Regions from separate parts of the Homo sapiens genome. Here all the other regions are linked to region 5. Evidence: promoter capture Hi-C in 16 types of primary human blood cells and fetal thymus (Javierre and others, 2016). All regions are on one chromosome and are shown on one strand. Each heading gives the region's core, a stretch centred on a gene start or on the middle of the fragment in contact. The rest is flanking DNA. Distances are from core to core; before and after follow the strand shown. Region 1 overlaps ZNF564 (zinc finger protein 564). Region 2 has its middle 11 kb from the start of ZNF709. Region 3 holds the start of ZNF564 (zinc finger protein 564). Region 4 holds the start of DHPS (deoxyhypusine synthase). Region 5 holds the start of ZNF700 (zinc finger protein 700).

Evidence for each region. The method cuts DNA at HindIII sites, captures the fragments that hold promoters and counts their contacts. A CHiCAGO score of 5 or more calls a contact.
Region 1: a fragment that was not itself captured here is called in contact with the fragment with the promoter of ZNF700 in region 5 in 1 of 17 cell types (erythroblasts); the score reaches 5.3 in erythroblasts.
Region 2: a contact is called between a fragment that was not itself captured here and the fragment with the promoter of ZNF700 in region 5, in 10 of 17 cell types (naive CD4 T cells, naive CD8 T cells, M1 macrophages and 7 more). The highest score is 7.8, in naive CD4 T cells.
Region 3: a contact is called between the fragment with the promoter of ZNF564 here and the fragment with the promoter of ZNF700 in region 5, in 2 of 17 cell types (total CD8 T cells and megakaryocytes). The highest score is 5.3, in total CD8 T cells.
Region 4: the fragment with the promoter of DHPS here is called in contact with the fragment with the promoter of ZNF700 in region 5 in 1 of 17 cell types (total CD4 T cells); the score reaches 5.0 in total CD4 T cells.

What each region holds. Positions count from the first base shown.
Region 1 is chr19:12,525,607-12,528,818 of GRCh38, forward strand. ZNF564 (zinc finger protein 564) reads right to left here. Exons shown (of 4, transcript NM_144976.4): 2 at 2,964-3,090; 3 at 2,698-2,758; 4 at 1-2,310. The coding sequence ends at 840. Among named protein-coding and RNA genes, the nearest start is that of ZNF564, 24 kb to the right of the region's middle. The HindIII fragment of the contact is 920 bases long and covers 883-1,802 here.
Region 2 is chr19:12,493,835-12,497,354 of GRCh38, forward strand. No RefSeq gene overlaps it. Among named protein-coding and RNA genes, the nearest start is that of ZNF709, 11 kb to the left of the region's middle. RefSeq lists enhancers at 688-1,568, 1,569-2,448, 1,710-1,789 and a silencer at 1,470-1,519. The HindIII fragment of the contact is 913 bases long and covers 1,338-2,250 here.
Region 3 is chr19:12,549,912-12,553,040 of GRCh38, forward strand. ZNF564 (zinc finger protein 564) reads right to left here and starts at 1,571. Exons shown (of 4, transcript NM_144976.4): 1 at 1,419-1,571. The coding sequence starts at 1,421. LINC02926 (long intergenic non-protein coding RNA 2926) reads left to right here and starts at 1,815. Exons shown (of 2, transcript NR_187485.1): 1 at 1,815-2,958. RefSeq lists enhancers at 208-710, 1,369-1,478, 1,544-1,838, 2,622-3,123, 3,124-3,129 and a silencer at 1,059-1,138. The HindIII fragment of the contact is 25,081 bases long and covers 1-2,578 here.
Region 4 is chr19:12,680,628-12,684,016 of GRCh38, forward strand. It overlaps DHPS (deoxyhypusine synthase), which reads right to left and starts at 1,253. Exons shown (of 9, transcript NM_001930.4): 1 at 933-1,253. The coding sequence starts at 1,139. RefSeq lists cis regulatory regions at 484-984, 1,010-1,544 and enhancers at 904-1,427, 1,068-1,362, 1,428-1,950, 2,474-2,996. The HindIII fragment of the contact is 4,796 bases long and covers 664-3,389 here.
Region 5 is chr19:11,923,550-11,926,717 of GRCh38, forward strand. It overlaps ZNF700 (zinc finger protein 700), which reads left to right and starts at 1,558. Exons shown (of 4, transcript NM_144566.3): 1 at 1,558-1,724. The coding sequence starts at 1,662. It also overlaps a transcript of ZNF69 not described here. RefSeq lists enhancers at 1-254, 255-1,044, 1,201-1,773, 1,221-1,270, 1,321-1,430 and a silencer at 1,821-2,020. The HindIII fragment of the contact is 3,475 bases long and covers 1-3,168 here.

The DNA.
Region 1 (3,212 bases), core at 93-2,592, 600 kb after region 5:
GCCATCTGGGTATCTTCTTTGGAGAAATGTCTATTCAAGTCCTTTCCTCCATTTTAAAATTGGATTGTGTCTTAGCTTGGGTTGCTAAAACAAAATACCATAAATTGGAAAGCTTAATTAATCAACAAACATTTATTTCTCATGGTTTGGGAGGCTGGGAAGTCCAATATCAAGGCACTGGCATAGTCCATGTCTGGTAAGGGCCTGCTTCCCGGTTCAAAGATAGCTATCTTCTCACTGCACCCTCTCATGGTGAAGGGCAAAGCTAGCTCTCTAGGGATTCCTATCAGGAAACTAATCCCAATTACAAGGCCTCCATCTTCATGATGTCCTCCAATCCTAAAAACCACCAGAGACAGGGCCTCCAAATACCATCACATTGTGGGGGAGAGGGGGGGCACGGGGGTAAGGTTTCAACATATGAATCTGAGGTGGCATACACTCAGCCAAAACATTACACCTCTGGCCCCCAAAATCCATGTCATCACATGTAAAATATATTCATCTCATCCCAAAGGCCTCAAAAGTCTCAGTTAATTCCAGCATGAAGCCTAATGTTTAAACTCAAACTCCAAAGTGTCATCTCAATATCACATCACTCAGATATGGATGAGACTCAATTCATGCTGAGGCAAAATTCTTCTTCAGCTCCGAACCGGTGAAAACCAAACTAGTCATGTATTTCCAAAATATGAGACAGGCACAGGATAGAGATTCCTATTCCAAAAGTGAGAAACAGGAGAAAGGGGTGAGCTCCCAAACAAGTCTGAAACCCAGAAAGCAAACTGAAGACTTTCCATATTCTTTAGATATGTAGATACTTGTAGACCTGTCCTCCACTATTCATTTTCACAGGTATTCGAAGGTTGTGTGATAAATGAAAGCTTTCCCACATTCTTTACGTAAGGTTTATCTCCATTATGAGCTCTTTCATGTCTTTGAAAGGAACTGGAATAACTGAACGTTTTTCCACATTGCTTACATTCATAGGGTTTTTCTCCGGTATGAGTTCTTTCATGTATTCTAATGGAACTGGCATAATTGAATGCTTTCCCACATTCTTTACATTCATAGGGTTTTTCTCCAGTATGAGTTCTTTCATGTGTTCGGACAGAACTAGGACAGTCAAAGGCTTTACCACATACCTGACATTTATAAGGTCCATCTCCAGTGTGCAGTATCATATGTTTTCTAATCCTTTTAAGAGAAATGAAGGCTTTCCCACATACCTGACATTCATAGGGTTTCTCTCCAGTGTGAGTTCTTTCGTGTATTTGAAATGAACTGGGACAGTCAAAGGCTCTACCACATACCTGACATTTATAAGGTCCATCTCCAGTGTGCTTTATCATGTGTCTTCGGACACTTGGGAGAGAAATGAAGGCTTTCCCGCATTCCTTACATTCATAGGGCTTCTCTCCAGTGTGAGTCCTTTCATGTGTTCGAACATTACTGGAAGAACTGAAGGTTTTACCACATTTATTACATTCATAGGGTTTCTCCCCAGTATGAGTTCTTTCATGCTTTCGAACATAACTGGGAAAAATAAAGGCTCTCCCACATACTTTACATTTATAAGGTCCATCCCCAGTGTGCCTAATCATATGACTTTGAAAATTTGTGAAAGAAATGAAGGCCTTCCCACACTGTTTACATTCATGGGGTTTCTCTCCAGTATGAGTTCTTTCATGTATTCGAAATAAACTGGGGCGGTCAAAGGCTTTTCCACATTCCTGACATTTATAAGGTCCATCTCCAGTGTGCCTAATCATGTGTCTTTGAAAACTTGGAAGAGAAATGAAAGCTTTTGCACATTCCTGACATTCATAGGGTTTCTCTCCAGTGTGAGTTCTTTCATGTATCTGAAATAAACTTGGGCGATCAAAGGCTTTCCCACATTCCTGACATTTATATGGTCCATCTCCAGTGTGCTTAATCATGTGTCTTCGAACACTTGGGAGAGAAATGAAGGCTTTCCCACATTCCGGACATGCATAGGGTTTCTCACCAGTGTGAGTTCTTTCATGTCTTCGAAAGGATTGACAAGAACTGAAGGCTTTCCCACACTGCTTACATTTATATGGTTTCTCTCCATATTCCTGATAGTCATATGGTTTGTGTCCAAGGTGAGATCTGATGTGCCTACTAAGGGATGAATGATGCATGAAGACTTTCCCACACAAACTACATTCACATGGTCTTACTATAGTAGGAATTTTCTTGTTCAGATTAAGATTGAGAATCTGACTGAAGGCTTCTCCACATTGATCATATTCTTTACTTTCACTGAGTCCCTCTTCCATATGATTTCTGGAAAAAATAGAAAGCAAGATTTAGTGGTTTGTGACTTTATATTTATTAATAGGTATTCGACTTACATTTTTACCATAATCGCGGAAAGGGTAAGTTTTCAGGCCTGTATGAATTGTTTGAAAGTGAATGGATGGAATGCTCTGCAAGAGAGCTTGACAGTAGCTATCACCAAAAAAGTGATATCCATATATACAGTTTCTTAATACTATTTCCAAGTGAATGATTTTGCAACACTGAACATCTATGCCACTTTTTCTTTTTCTGGTGAAAAAGTTGTAGGAATAAATAAATCTGAAGCTGGGCTTACTGGTTTGTTTACTTATTTTTAAAATTTCATGACATACTAAGAAGGAGACATTGCTTTATCTTGTCAGTGCAAATTACCTTAAAATTCTCCCCTGATTTTTGTACCAATCTTCAATGCTCTGGTCTTCCCATTTTTTTCCTAAAATATAGTCAGAAAAAATCCTTATGAACTGATAGACATTACAGAAAAATGACTAGATTCTAAGTTCATGATAAGGTGCAAACAACCCTGATTTATTCACCCAAGTATTCCCTTTTCCACATTAGACATCATGAAAAAGCATTAAAAAGCAAGAAATACTTCTTCTCTAACTGACTAAAAGAAGGAATGATGTCATCCTTACCTACACAGGCCAGGTTTCTAAAGGTTTCCCGCATCACATCTCTGTAGAGTTTCTTCTGGGAAGGATCCAGCAAAGCCCACTCCTCAAGTGTGAAGTTCACAGCCACATCCTCAGAGGCCACTGAGTCCTAAAACATCCCAAATATGCAATGCAGGAGGAAGAATGAGATGACAGTACAGGGATGTAAACCCAATTCATAAAAGTTCACAAATGGCTAGGTGTGGTGGCTCATGCCTGTAATCCCAGCAC
Region 2 (3,520 bases), core at 544-3,043, 570 kb after region 5:
CACCACTGCACTCCAGCCTGGGCGACAGAGCGAGACTCCGTCTCAAAAAAAAAAAAAAAAAAAAAAAAAAAAAAAAAAATCTAATAATCGGATTAAAAATAGGCAAAAAATCTGAAAAGACATTTCTCAAAAGAAGGCATGCAAATGGCAAACCGTTATATGAAAAGGCCAACATCACTGATCATCAGAGAAATGCAAATCAAAACTATTATACAATGAGATATCATCTCACCCCTGTTAAAATGGCTTTTATCCAAAAGTCAGGCAGTAACAAATGCTGGAGAGGATGTGGAGAAAAGGGAACCTTTGTACACTGTTGGTGGGAATGTAAATTAGTACAACCACTATAGAGAACAGTTTGGAGGTTCCACACACACAAAAAAAATAAAAATAGAGCTGCCATTTGATCCAGCAACCCCACTTTTAGGTAAATACCCCAAAGAAAGGAAATCCATGTATTGAAGAGAGATATCTGCACTCCTATGTTTATTGCAGCATTATTCACAATCCCCAAGATTTAGAAGCAACCTAACTGTCCCTCAACAGATGAATGGATTAAAAAAAAAATGTTCCAAATACACAATGGAGTACTATTCAGCCATAAAAAAGAATGAGATCCTGTCATTTGCAACAATTTGGATGGAATTAGAGGTCATTATGTTAAGCGAAATAAGCCAGGCACAGAAAGACAAACTTCACATGTTCTCACTTATTTTTGGGAGCAAAAAATTAAAACAATTGACCTCATGGAGATAGAGAGTAGAAGGATGGTTACCAGAGGCTGGAAAGGGTAGTGCGGGGGTTGGGGGAAGGGGAAGTGAAGATGGTTAATGGCCACAAAAAATAGAATGAATGAGACCTAGTATTTGCTAGCATAACAGGGTGATTATAGTAAAAAATAATTTGGTTGCACATTTTTAAATAACTAAAAGAGTATAATCGGCTTGTTTGTAACACAAAGGATAAATGCTTGAGTTGATGGATTCCCCATTTACCATGATGTGATTATTAGGCATTGCATGCTTACATCAAAATATCTCATGTAACTCATAAATATATACACCTACTATGTACCCACAACAAAACTTAAAATTAAAAATGTAAACATTGCCTGGTCTCTGTGAACCTACGGGGTCACAGTTCTGAGTGTCCTGGCAGCATGATGCCAAGCCACTGTCCTCTGGAGAATATCTGACTCTCCTGATCCAGTATGGCCTTGCCTCCAGGGCCCTTTTGCTGTGGATTTACTCCTCAAAGAGTCAGTCATCAAGGGGTTCGCTTTATCTGGAAACTCTTGTCTGGCATTCCCTGCGCGCACACCTATGTCCCCGTTCAGAAGCTTCTTCGGTAAACGCCAGTGTCCGGTCTGAGGGCCTTTATATCTAGCATATAAAGTTCTGGTATAATGCAAATGTCTCTGGCAGGACAGTTTCAGGGACAAAAGTGGAAGCTGGATCGCTCAGCTACCTGACCTCCGTCTGAGATGTGACTCAGGCAACAGGGGGTGGAACCTCACAAACTGTCCAATTGGAGACGCCGCCGGAGCGGTGGGTGGGGCCGCCCTGTACAAAGGCGCGTGGATACGGTGGCGCGATTTCCAGTTTGTGTCTCTCCTGCCTCGAACGTCGCTAGGTGGCTCTGCCGCAGCCTCTGTCGCTCTGGGACCCGCACTGGCAGAGGGAGTCGTAGTTAGGGGGTGGGGACACCGCGGAAGCCCGGAAATGGTGACTGTGCGGGGCCTGGAATCCCGAGACCTGAAGAGCTGCTGGCCGGAACCGGCTGTCGCGGGAACCGGGCCTGCCCGCGGCCACTCCTGGGTCTGTGAACCCGAGTCCCCCTGGCGTAGCTCGGCCCTCGGCCTCCTCCCGCCGCAGAGTGAAGCTGGGCCGGCAGCCAGGATCCCGGGAGTCCTGTCCTGTCCCCGCGCGGCTACTGAGGCCCGGGTCCCGGAGCCCTGTGTGGGCAGCTCCATGCCCGTAGCCCCGCGTCTTCCAAGATTGTGTGGGGATCACGGGAGGGTCATAGGAGAGAAGGAATCCCGGCTCGAGTGTGGCGTTCGTGCGTGGGAGGAGCGGTGGTCCGTGGGGTCCCCAGTCTCTTCTTTTTCCCCAGGGGGACCGGTTTGCCCCTTAATTTTACAAACGTGTGAAAACAGGATCTCAAATCCACGACCCCGTTTTCCAGCCTAGCTCTTCCTAGGACTGACAGGAAATCCCTAAATTTGCCAATTCCTTCTTTCATTCCAAATGAAGCTTTCCCTCTCCAATTCATAATATTATTATTTGCCCTGTTAAATACAATTTGTAGGAAGCCATTGGTTTAGACTGAGCTCCTGCACTAGACCCAACAGACCAAACCAAAATGAGTTACCCACGGGGACGTTCCTCGCTACCAAGCTGAAACTAAGTTGTTTATCTGACCTTACAAATTATCAGGAGAGAAAGAGATGCTGGTCAAATCCCCAACAGGCCAGTTTTAGCCAACATGATAAAGAAAGTCCCCTCTGCTTTAACTTTTACCAGAAAAGCAACTTTGAAAGTTCCCGTCTTTCAACTGGGCGTGATGGCTCACGCCTGTAATCCCAGCACTTTGGGAGGCCGAGGTGGGTGGATCATTTGAGGTCAGGAGTTCGAGACCAGCCTGGCGAACATGGTGAAACCCTCGTCTCTACTAAAAATACAAAAATTAGCTGCATGATGGCCTGTGCTTGTAGTCCCAGCTACTCAGGGGGCTGAGGTGGGAGGCTCACTTAAGCCCAAGCCCTGGAGGTCGAGGCTGCGGTGAGCTATGATCTCGCCACTGCGCTACAGCCTGGGTGACAGAGGGAGACCCTGTCTCAAAAAAATAAACATCAATAGCGGTTGAAAGCCCCATGACTGGGGAGCAGCAGCCAGAGACTAGTGACTTCAAGCTAAGACCACTCTTGAGCCTGCAAAGGGAGGTCATTGAAAGCCCAGATGGGTCTTCCTGGGGAGCCTTCCCCAAAAGTGTCCTACTTGCTCTCACCCACCAAGGAAAGAGCTCTTTATACAGAGAGAAGCTACAGAGCACTGGAATGCTGGGAACCGCACGCGGTTTTAGGAGAACCGGGAGGGTTTTAATTGTCTAGGTTGTAATTGTAGTTTCCTTGGGTCTACTTTTAGACATTAGGTTTGAGTTTTGCTTTCACATTAGGGTACACTCGTGGTGTAATTTTTCCATATTGAAAAAGTCTGTGAAAGTTACAAGTTCTGTCTCCTGGACATGGTGTTAATGACTTTGGGAGTTCATTTGTGTCAGAACCTTCATCTGAATCCAGCTGACAGTTTCGTCACTTACGAGAACCAGTGGGAAGGGGCATTCTCTGCTCCCGGAGTTCATTCCTGTGGCTGCTCAGGTGTCCCTGCTGTCACCAGGGACTATTCCACTCTAGGGACTATACCCTAACAGGGAGAGAGTGTGGACTCCAAGCTTTGGTATGTGTTTAACCTTCTGGATGTTGGTTTTTCTTCTGAATTGCGGAGAAGCAGGCTGCTTATCT
Region 3 (3,129 bases), core at 321-2,820, 630 kb after region 5:
AAAGTTTCCAAAGGGGAAACTCCACCCAAAGACATTCTGATTAGGCGTCGGGGCTTAGGAAAGATAAAAGGAGGGGAAGCACAAAAATTTTTTTACCACGGCCGGGCGCGGTGGCTCACGCCTGTAATCCCAGCACTTTGGGAGGCCGAGGCAGGCGGATCACCTGAGGTCGGGAGTTCGAGACCAGCCTGGCCAACATGGAGAAACCCTGTCTCTACTAAAAATACAAAATTAGCCGGGCATGGTGGCGCATGCCTGTAATCCCAGTTACACGGGAGGCTGAGGCAGGAGAATCGCTTGAACCCAGGAGGTGGAGGTTGCAGTGAGCTGAGATCGCGCCATTGCACTCCAGCCTGGGCAATAAGAGCGAAACTCTGTCTCAAAAAAAAAAAAAAATTTTACCGTAGAGTGTCAGGTTCTTATTCTCCGTTTCCCTCTCAGGTTACAAGTACACAAACAAGAGGCCGGGCGCGGTGGCTCACGTCTGTAATACCAGCATTTTGGGAGGCGGAGGTGAGCGGATCACCTGAGGTCTGGAGTTTGAGACCAACCTGGCCAACATGGAGAAACCCAGTTTCTACCAAAAATACAAAAAGTAGCCGGTCGTGGCGGCGCATGCCTGTAATCCCAGTTACTCAGGAGGCTGAGGCAGGAGAATTGCTTGAACCCGGAAGGCGAAGGTTGCAGTGAGCTGAGATCTTCCCACTGCACTCCAGCCTGGGCGACAGAGCGAAACTCTGTCTGAAAAGAAAAAAAAAACAACAAACAGAAAACAAATCCTTTCAAAAGAGTATGGTGAAAGAAACTATAAACAACTAAAATACTGTGTCTTAAATGTCAAACAAAAAACAGCTGATAATGTTGATTTGGCGAGGGGAGGTCACCTTTGGGAATGCGGGGAAGGAACCGGAAATTTAGGCATTTATTTCCAGCCCCAGAAAAAGCTAGGCTAAAAAAAACGGGAGTCGTAGGTTTGAGATTCTTTTTCCAGTACGTTTGGAAGACTCGGAGGAAGACCAGTCCCCCGGAAAAAAAGACGATGTACTGGGAAGGCCACAGCCCACAGCTCTTCCCATGCACGAACCGCACACCCGAGACGGGATTCCGCCTTATGACCCTCCCGTGTCCCAGTACAAACAATCTGGAGAGAGGCGGGGCTGCGGGCGCGGAGCTGCCCAGACAGGGCTCCGAGGCCGAGGCCGCAGTCGCCGCGCAGGGACGGGACAGGACGCCTGGGGTACTGGCTACGGCCCAACCCACCCTGCGGCCGAGGGGACAGAGGGCCGAGCTGCGCCAGGGAACTCGGGTCCCAGACCCTGGAGTCGCTGCAGGGAGGCCAGGGTGCTTCCACAGCCGGTTCCGGCCGGTTCCCACAAGCCCCTCCCCCAGTCTCCAGGCGCCCGGCCCCGCACACGCACCATTTCCTGGCTTCCAGGGTGTCCCGGGGTCCTGCCTACGGCTCTCTCCGGCCTGTGCAGGTCCCAGCGCGCCAGACGCTGCGGTGGAGCCACCGGGGCCACTGGAGAAGCGGAGACCGGAACCCAAACGCAGCGGACACGAAACAGGAAGACCCCGCGGAGTTGTTGAACATTGCCCCTGTCCCCCTTGCAGAGTTCCTGATTGGATGGTTTGCAGGTTCCCGCCCCAGTGCCCCTGATTGGGTGATGATTCAAGTCCTGCCCCCTTGGTACTGAGTGACAGGAGAAGCAATGCGGTATGTGGCTGAGTAAAGACAGATTGACAGGGTCTTGGCCACTGCCCTTCGCGGGCCGGGCTTCCTCCTTCTGTAACCTTCTGTGCCGGGGAGGATATTTGCATTTAAGCAGAAAGTGTTTCAGGCTCTGCAGAGGTGACACTGGCGTGTTTCTGCACTCAGGGTGCCCTTCCTGCCTTTTCCTCCCGGACACAGAGTCACAAGTGTGCACAGGGAATGACAGACTCGGCGTCCAGTGGAGCCATCCCCTGGCCTCGGAGTAGGAGGCGCGCCCAGGCCAGGCCAGACCACAGTGTAACAGGAGGGAGGAGGGCTTGCTTCTTTCAGGCAAGAAAATTAAAACGGACAAAGAAATAAAAGTATTAAATGTATAGGAAAAACTGGAGTTTTTATGACAGCGATCATCTATAAAGAAACCAAGAGAAGTAAGCAAACATTTGAACTAGCTCAGACAAGCAGCCTGCTTCACCCGCAGTTCACAAGGAAAACCCACAATCATAACGTTAAAAATATTCCCAAGCGCCGGGCGCGGTGGCTCACGCCTGTAATCCCAGAACTTTGGAAGGCCAAGGTGAGAAAATTGCTTAAGGTCAGGAGTTCAAGACCAGCCTAACCAACATGGTGAAACCCCATCTCTACTAAAAATACAAAAATTAGCCAGGCGTGGTGGCAGGTGCCTGTAATCCCAGCAACTCGGGAAGCTGAGGTACGAGAATCGCTTGAACCTGGGAGGGGGAAGTTGCAGTGAGCCGAGATAGCGCCATTGCACTCCAGCCTGGGCGACAGAGCGAGACTAAAAAATGAAATATGAAATGAAATGAAATAATGAAATGAAGAAATGAAATATAAAATAAAATAATCCCAAGCTTGGGACCCAGACTCTAACTGCTGAAATGGAACCCCAGTGTGGATCAGAACCTGGTGATGAGACAGGGACACTTAAGAATTCAACTTTGGGAGCTCAAGGTGCCCTCCAGTCCTCTCCTCACAGTGTGGAAACACTCTTTCCTTCAAAACCTTCATTTGTACCAGCAGGAAACTCTCACCCGGAGTCAATGTAAAGTCGTGACCTAAATAAATTGTCATGTTCCCAAACCTTTTCTCCAGGGGACAATGCAAACAAGTTTTTCACTGAGTCTGACCCTCACAGATTTTCTTCATGTATACAAATTACAGCCTGACTCAGCGACCCCATGAATGCTAAAACCAAAACACTGTCCAGGAAATGGCCCCAGGCGCCAAAGGTACAACCTCAGAAAAGACAGAACCCTCCACCCCCAACCCAACCACATCTGCACATGGGTCTCCTGCTTTTCACAGCTCTGCAGCTTCTCAGAATCCACATTCCTGGCCAGGCGCGGTGGCTCACGCCAGCACTTTGAGAGGCCCAGGCGGGCGGATCACCTGAGGTCAGG
Region 4 (3,389 bases), core at 3-2,502, 760 kb after region 5:
GGTTCAAGCGATTCTCCTGCCTCAGCCTCCCGAGTAGCTGGGACTACAGGCGCGCACCACCATGCCCGGCTAATTTTTTGCATTTTAGTAGAGACGGGGTTTCTCCATGTTGGTCAGGCTGGTCTCGAACTCCCGACCTCAGGTGATCCGCCCGCCTCGGCCTCCCAAAATGCTGAGATTACAGGCATGAGCCACCGTGCCCGGCCTTTTTTTTTTTTTTTTTTTGAGACAGAGTATCGCTCTGTCACCAGGCTGGAGTGCAGTGGCGCAATCTCAGCTCACTGCAACCTCCACCTCGCGGGTTCAAGCGATTCTCCTGCCTCAGCCTCCCGAGTAGCTGGGACTACAGGCGCGCAACACCATGCCCGGCTAATTTTTTGCATTTTAGTAGAGACAGGGTTTCACCATGTTGGCCAGGCTTGTCTCGAACTCCTCTTCTCTTGATCCACCCGCCTCGGCTTCCCAAAATGCTGGGATTATAGGCATGCGCCACCGCGCCCAGCCAGCCCCCACCCTTTTAGGAATCAGAGAGCATCTCCTTTCAGATCCGGTCCCTTCCCCGCTGGGAAAAGCAAATCTAAATTCAAGAACCGCCCAGACTTAGGCTCCTCCTCCCATATCCTCCCTTAATTTGTCTTGCCCCAGGCTCCGCCCATTCCAGAAAGCTTTAAATGTACCTAGAACCCGCCCCCACACCAAGAATCAGTCCTCGCCTCCTCAGGTTACCGTACCAGCATGTAACTACCAGAGTGCAAAATCCCCTTCCCAGGACAGAAACTCCCGCCCAGAATAGGTCCCGCCTTCCTCCAACTATTGGGCAACTCAAATAAAAGACATATCCCCTCCACTGGAAACGCTGCCCCCGTCTAGTACCGCGTTGGTTCTACAAGCCACGCCCCTCCGCGTCCCTAGAAATTCCGCCCGGTCCTCACCATGGCATTGACTTGCTGTACAGCGCGCCCGAAGTTGGTTGCTTGGAAGCCGGTGGTGCCGAAGGCCTCCAGCAGTGCGCGGTAATTCACACCGCGGTTGAAGTCGTAGCCCCGGACCTGGGTGCTTTCGGGCGGCAACGTCGAGCTGTGCTTTAGCACGGCGGCCAGCGCCCCCGCTGGCGCCTCCCGTTCCAGGGAACCTTCCATGCGCCTATAGCCGGCTCTCGAGTCAAAGCTGCCCCTAGGCCGGGCTTACGGCGGCCCAGAAACGCGTTAAACCCCGACGCGCGCGTCTCCGCAAGAGCACAGGAAGTAGGGAACGTGCTTTGGGCGAAAGACCGGAAGTTGGTTTATCACGTGACCATTTTTAGCCCCTGTAAACCAGGTCGCCGCCATTTTTGTGCGTGTGTTCCGTAATACGGAAGCCGCGAGGAGCCTTTAGGCCCTTTCTTTCTTTTTTTTTTTTTTTTTTTTTTTGAGACGGAGTCTCGCTCTGTCACCCAGGCTGGAGTGCAGTGGCGCGATCTCAGCTCACTGCCAGCTCCGCTTTCCGGGTTCACGCTGTTCTCCTGCCTCAGCCTCCCGAGTAGCTGGGACTACAGGCGCCCACCACCACGCCCGGCTAATTTTTTTGTATTTTTAGTAGAGACGGGGTTTCACCTGGTCTCGATCTCCTGACCTCGTGATTCGCCCGCCTCGGCCTCCCAAAGTGCTGGGATTACAGGCGTGACCCACCGCGCCCGGCGCCTTTAGGCCTTTTCTTCCTTTTTTTTTCTTTTTTTTTTTTTTGATACAGGGTTTCGCTCTTGTTGCCCAGGCTGGAGTGCAATTGCCCGATCTCAGCTCACCACAACCTCCACATTCCGGGTTCAAGCGATTCTCCTGCCTCAGCCTCCCGAGTAGCTGGGACTACTGGCATGCACCGCCATGCCCGGCTAATTTTGTATTTTTAGTAGAGGCGGGGTTTCTCCCTGTTGGTCAGGCTGGTCTCGAACTTCCGACCTCAGGTTATCCGCCCGCCTCAGCCTCCCAAAGTGCTGGGATTACAGGCGTGAGCCACTGCGCTTCGGCCTTTACTTGTTTTCATGTGTTCTCGACTTCCCATGAATGAAGATTCTTTTTTATTTTTATTATTTATTTATTTAATTTATTTTTGAGACAAGAGTTACACGCTCTTGTTACGCAGGCTGGAGTGCGGTGGTGCAATCTTGACTCATTGCAACCTCTGCCCCCCTGGTTCAAGCGATTCTCCTGCCTCAGCCTCCCGAGTTGCTGGGATTACAGACACCCACCACCAGGCCTGGCTAATTTTTTATTTTTAGTAGAGATGGCATTTCACCATGTTGGCGAGGCTGGTTCTGCCCTCAGGTGACCGCCCGCCTGGGCTTTCCAAAGTGCTGAGATTACAGGTGTGAGCCACCGTCCCCAGCCAAAATTCCTATTTTAATGCCACCTGCTGGAGACCCACTGCTTGGCCCGGCACTCGCCCATTCGTTTCTGTTCTGTCCCCTCGGGAGGGGAGGATGGTTTTGTTGTTGTTGTTGCTGTTTTGTTTGTTTGTTTGTTTGAGCTAGAGTCTTGCGCTGTCTCCCAGGCTGGAGTGCAGTGGCACGATCTCGGCTCACTGCAACCTCCGCCTCCCAGGTTCACGCCATTCTTCTGCCTCAGCCTCCCCAGTAACTGGGACTACAGGCGCCGGCCACCACGCCCGGCTAATATTTTGTATTTTTAGTAGAGACGGGGTTTCACCGTGTTAGCCAGGGTAGTCTCGATCTCCTGACCTCGTGATCCGCCCGCCTCAGCCTCCCAAAGTGCTGGGATTACAGGCATGAGCCACCGCGCCTGGCCTGCTGCTATTTTTTGATAGGGTCTCACTCTGTCGCCAGGCTGGAGTGCTGTGACGCGATCTCGGCCCACTGCAACCTCTGACTCCCGGACTCAGGTCATCCTCCCACCCCAGCATTCCGACTAGTGTGCACCATCGTGCCCAGCTAATTTTTTTATGAGGGTCACTTTTTTTTTTTTTTTTTTTTTTGAGACAGAGTCTCGCTCTGTCGCCCAGGCTGGAGTGCAGTGGCGCAATCTCGGCTCACTGCAAGCTCTGCCTCCCAGGTTCATGCCATTCTCCTGCCTCAGCCTCCCGAGTAACTGGGACTACAGGTGCCCGCCACCACACCCGGCTAATTTTTTCTGTTTTTAGTAGAGATGGGGTTTCACCGTGTTAGCCAGGATGGTCTCGATCTCCTGAACTCGTGACCCGCCCGCCTTGGCCTCCCAAAGTGCCAGGATTACAGGCGTGAGCCACTGCGCCCGGCCGAGGGTCACTTCTTAAGCGTCACCCATGGACAAGATTTCGGTCACCAGGCAGAGTTAGACACAGTTTCATCCTTCCTCAGCCACTTTTGTCTAATGGGATAGTGAGCCCGGTTCGTGCCCTCACAAGTCTCCAAAGCCTTC
Region 5 (3,168 bases), core at 308-2,807:
CATCTCCAGCTCTCCACCCTCTCTCCCACCAGCCTGGCCTGGAGGTGCTGCAGTGTCATTGACTGCGAGTCCCTCAGCTGCCACCTCCACCGCGATCTGGAAGTCTTTCAAATGCCCTTAAGTTATCTTAGATTTTTCCTCCCCCACTTTATACATAAGCATAGGAGGAGAGCAGGGACTCTGCTGGTGTCTTATTTACACAATGGGATTGAAGGTGTTTGTCTCGCGAAACTAATCGATGGGGTGAGAAGTAGCTGAATAACCTGCAGGGGGCAGCAGAGCCCAAGGCCAGTGATTCCACGTTGAGGACAGTCTCTGCAGCCTGCAAAGGGAGGGAAAGAGAGTTTCCCTGGGGGCTTCGCGGGCAGCCCACCCCCTTCTACAAGTGGCCTCCAGCTGCTCAGAGCAGCTCCAGAAAGGGTGTGGATTCCGAGAAGCTGCAGAGCCCTGGAAAGCAGAAGACCCATGTGCAGACGCATTTGTGGCGTCTCTGTCCTTTCTGGTGTTGTACCTCTGGAGCTGTCTTCTGGGCAGGGTTTGGGGTTTGACATGCATGGGGTCGTTGGGGTCAGAGTTATTTGTATAGATAAAGAAAATGTGTGGCCGGGCGCGGTGGCTCACGCCTGTAATCCCAGCACTTTGCGGGGCCGAGGCGGGCGGATCAAGAGGTCAGAAGATCGAGACCATCCTGGCTAACACGGTGAAACCCCGTCTCCACTGAAAATACAAAATATTAGCCGGGCGTGGTGGCGGGCGCCTTTAATCCCAGCTACTCCGGAGGCCGAGGTAAGAGAATGGCGTGAACTCGGGAGGCGGAGCTTGCAGTGAGTCGAGATCGCACCACTGCACTCCAGCCTGGGCTACAGAGCAAGACTCCGTCTCAAAAAAAAAAAAAAAAAAAGAAAGAAAGAAAAGAAAATGTGTGAAGATCAGGCTAGAGCTAGAGACAGAATTGTTTGGTGGCGTCACCTGGATAAAGGGTTCATGAAGTTGACAGTTTACTTAGGTCAGAAACAAAACCTGGTGAGAGTTTCCTGCTGGTGAAAATGAAGATCTGAAAGGAGGAAGCATTTTCACAAGGGGATGGGGGTGTGTGAGCAAGGCTTGGCCACGCCTCATCCCCAATTCCGGCCCGCTCGAGGACATATGCCTCTCCTCCTGGTGCAGTCGTGCCTGGCCTGGTCTCGGTTCCCCTGCTGCTCTGAGGCCAGCAGTTGGCTCCTATGGACACTGAGTCTGAAATTCCCTGCACACTCCTGTGACCCCGTGCAGAACGAAGGAGCGGGGACTGTCCCTTGAGTGAGGATGACGCTAGTGTTCTCTTCTATCAATAGCAAGTTTGGCTGAAATGCAAATATCCAATAACCAGAGTGCAGAAAGCAGCTCGCCCTTAGAGAAGCTGTGGCTAGAATCCGTCAGTCTGGCTCTGCGGGGCCTGATACCCAGGGCTTCAGCTGTCACTCAGATGTGGGGGGCGGGACCTAGTATTTCATCCAATCAGAGGTGCTGGGGCGTGGCACTGCCCACAGTTCATCCGGAAATGGAGGGGGTCGCTTTCCTCACCTTCCTCGCTGCGCGGGCGGCGGTTGGTAACCGGTCAGACCAGCCCGAGAGGGACCTGGTGCCTGTACCCAGGCTTCTGTCGCTCTGTCGCCTGCGCTATGCCCTGCTGTAGTCACAGGAGCTGTAGAGAGGACCCCGGTACATCTGAAAGCCGGGAAATGGTGCGTGTGCGGGACCAGATGTCGTGAGACGGGGGAGGGGCTGCCTGGAACAGGCGGGAACCGGCTGTGGCGGGACCCGGGCCTCCCTGTGGGCGACTCCGGGGTCTGGGACCGAGTCCTCCTTGAGCAGTTCGGCCCTCGGTCCCCTTGGCCGCTGGACGGGGCTGGGCCAGCAGCCAGGACCCGGGCGTCCTGTCCCGTCCCTGCGCGGCGACTGCGGCCGCGGCCCCTGCCCCGGAGCCCTCTCTGGGCAGTTCCGCTCCCGCAGCCCCGCGTCTCCCCAGATTGTGCGGAAGCAACGGGAGGGTCATGGAGGCATCCTGACTCGGGTGTGGGGTTCGTGCGTGGGAGGAGCAGTGGTCTGTGGGGCCCCCAGTCCCCACTTTCTCCTGTTAAAAATTAAACTGAGGTACGTTAACAATTAAAGAGTTCATTTGAGCAAACAGCGATTCACGAATGAGAAACACCCCGTCCTGGGTTGTGGTTTGTCAACGGAAAAAGCCAAACTATGTAAAATAAAGAAGTTTATTCAGAGCCGAATAGGAGAGACCTTGGCCGAGGGAAACACAACCCCAAGCAGCCTGGAGTAAGTGGTCCCGAGGCGGCTCAAGACAGTTTGGTTTTATTCATTTCAGAGAGACAGGAATTGCAGGGAAAATGATGAATCAGTGCCTGAAAGGTGTAAGTTCCATTGGCAGAAAGGGTGGGACCTGTGGAAGGGGGGTTAGAAGGCACAGGTGGTTGAGGGATTCTGTAGGTGGCAGCTGGTTGAGAGTGTGAAGTTTGTCTAAAGTTTGGAGGAGGTAGGAAGGAAGGGGGTCTGTTATCTGCCACTTGATTCCATCCCAGCCAGAAAACAGACCTGTTTCTCTAGATTTTATGAATTCTGAGGCGTGACTTTACTTTTGCCTTGCGTGGCCTTAGGTTTTGTTTGTAAGTTAGTATCTTCTTGCCACAAGCAGTCTGTTTTTCCATTCTATCTATTTTTACATGAATGTGTGGGAGAGGGTATAAGGAGACCTGTCTCACCTCCCATCCTGTCATACAGAGGCACTCAATTTTCAGGGTTTTTTGCGGGTCCTGTTGGCCAAGAGCCGGTCACTTCACTTAGCTGGAAAGGTACTTTGTTTTTATTTGAGACGGAGTCTCCTGTCGCCCAGACTGGAGTGCAATGGCCTGATCTCGGCTCACTGCAACCTCCACCTTCCGGGTTCAAGTGATTCTCCTGCCTCAGCCTCCTGAGTAGCTGGGATTGCAGGCATGCACCACTATGCCCTCCTAATTTTTGTATTTTTAGTAGAGATGGGGTTTCACCATGTTGGCCAGGCTGGTCTCGAACTCCTGACCTCAAGTGATCCACCCACCTCAGCCTCCCAAAGTGCTGGGATTACAGATGTGAGCCATCTCGCCGGGCCAGAGGTATGTTTTTATTTTTAGTTTACCA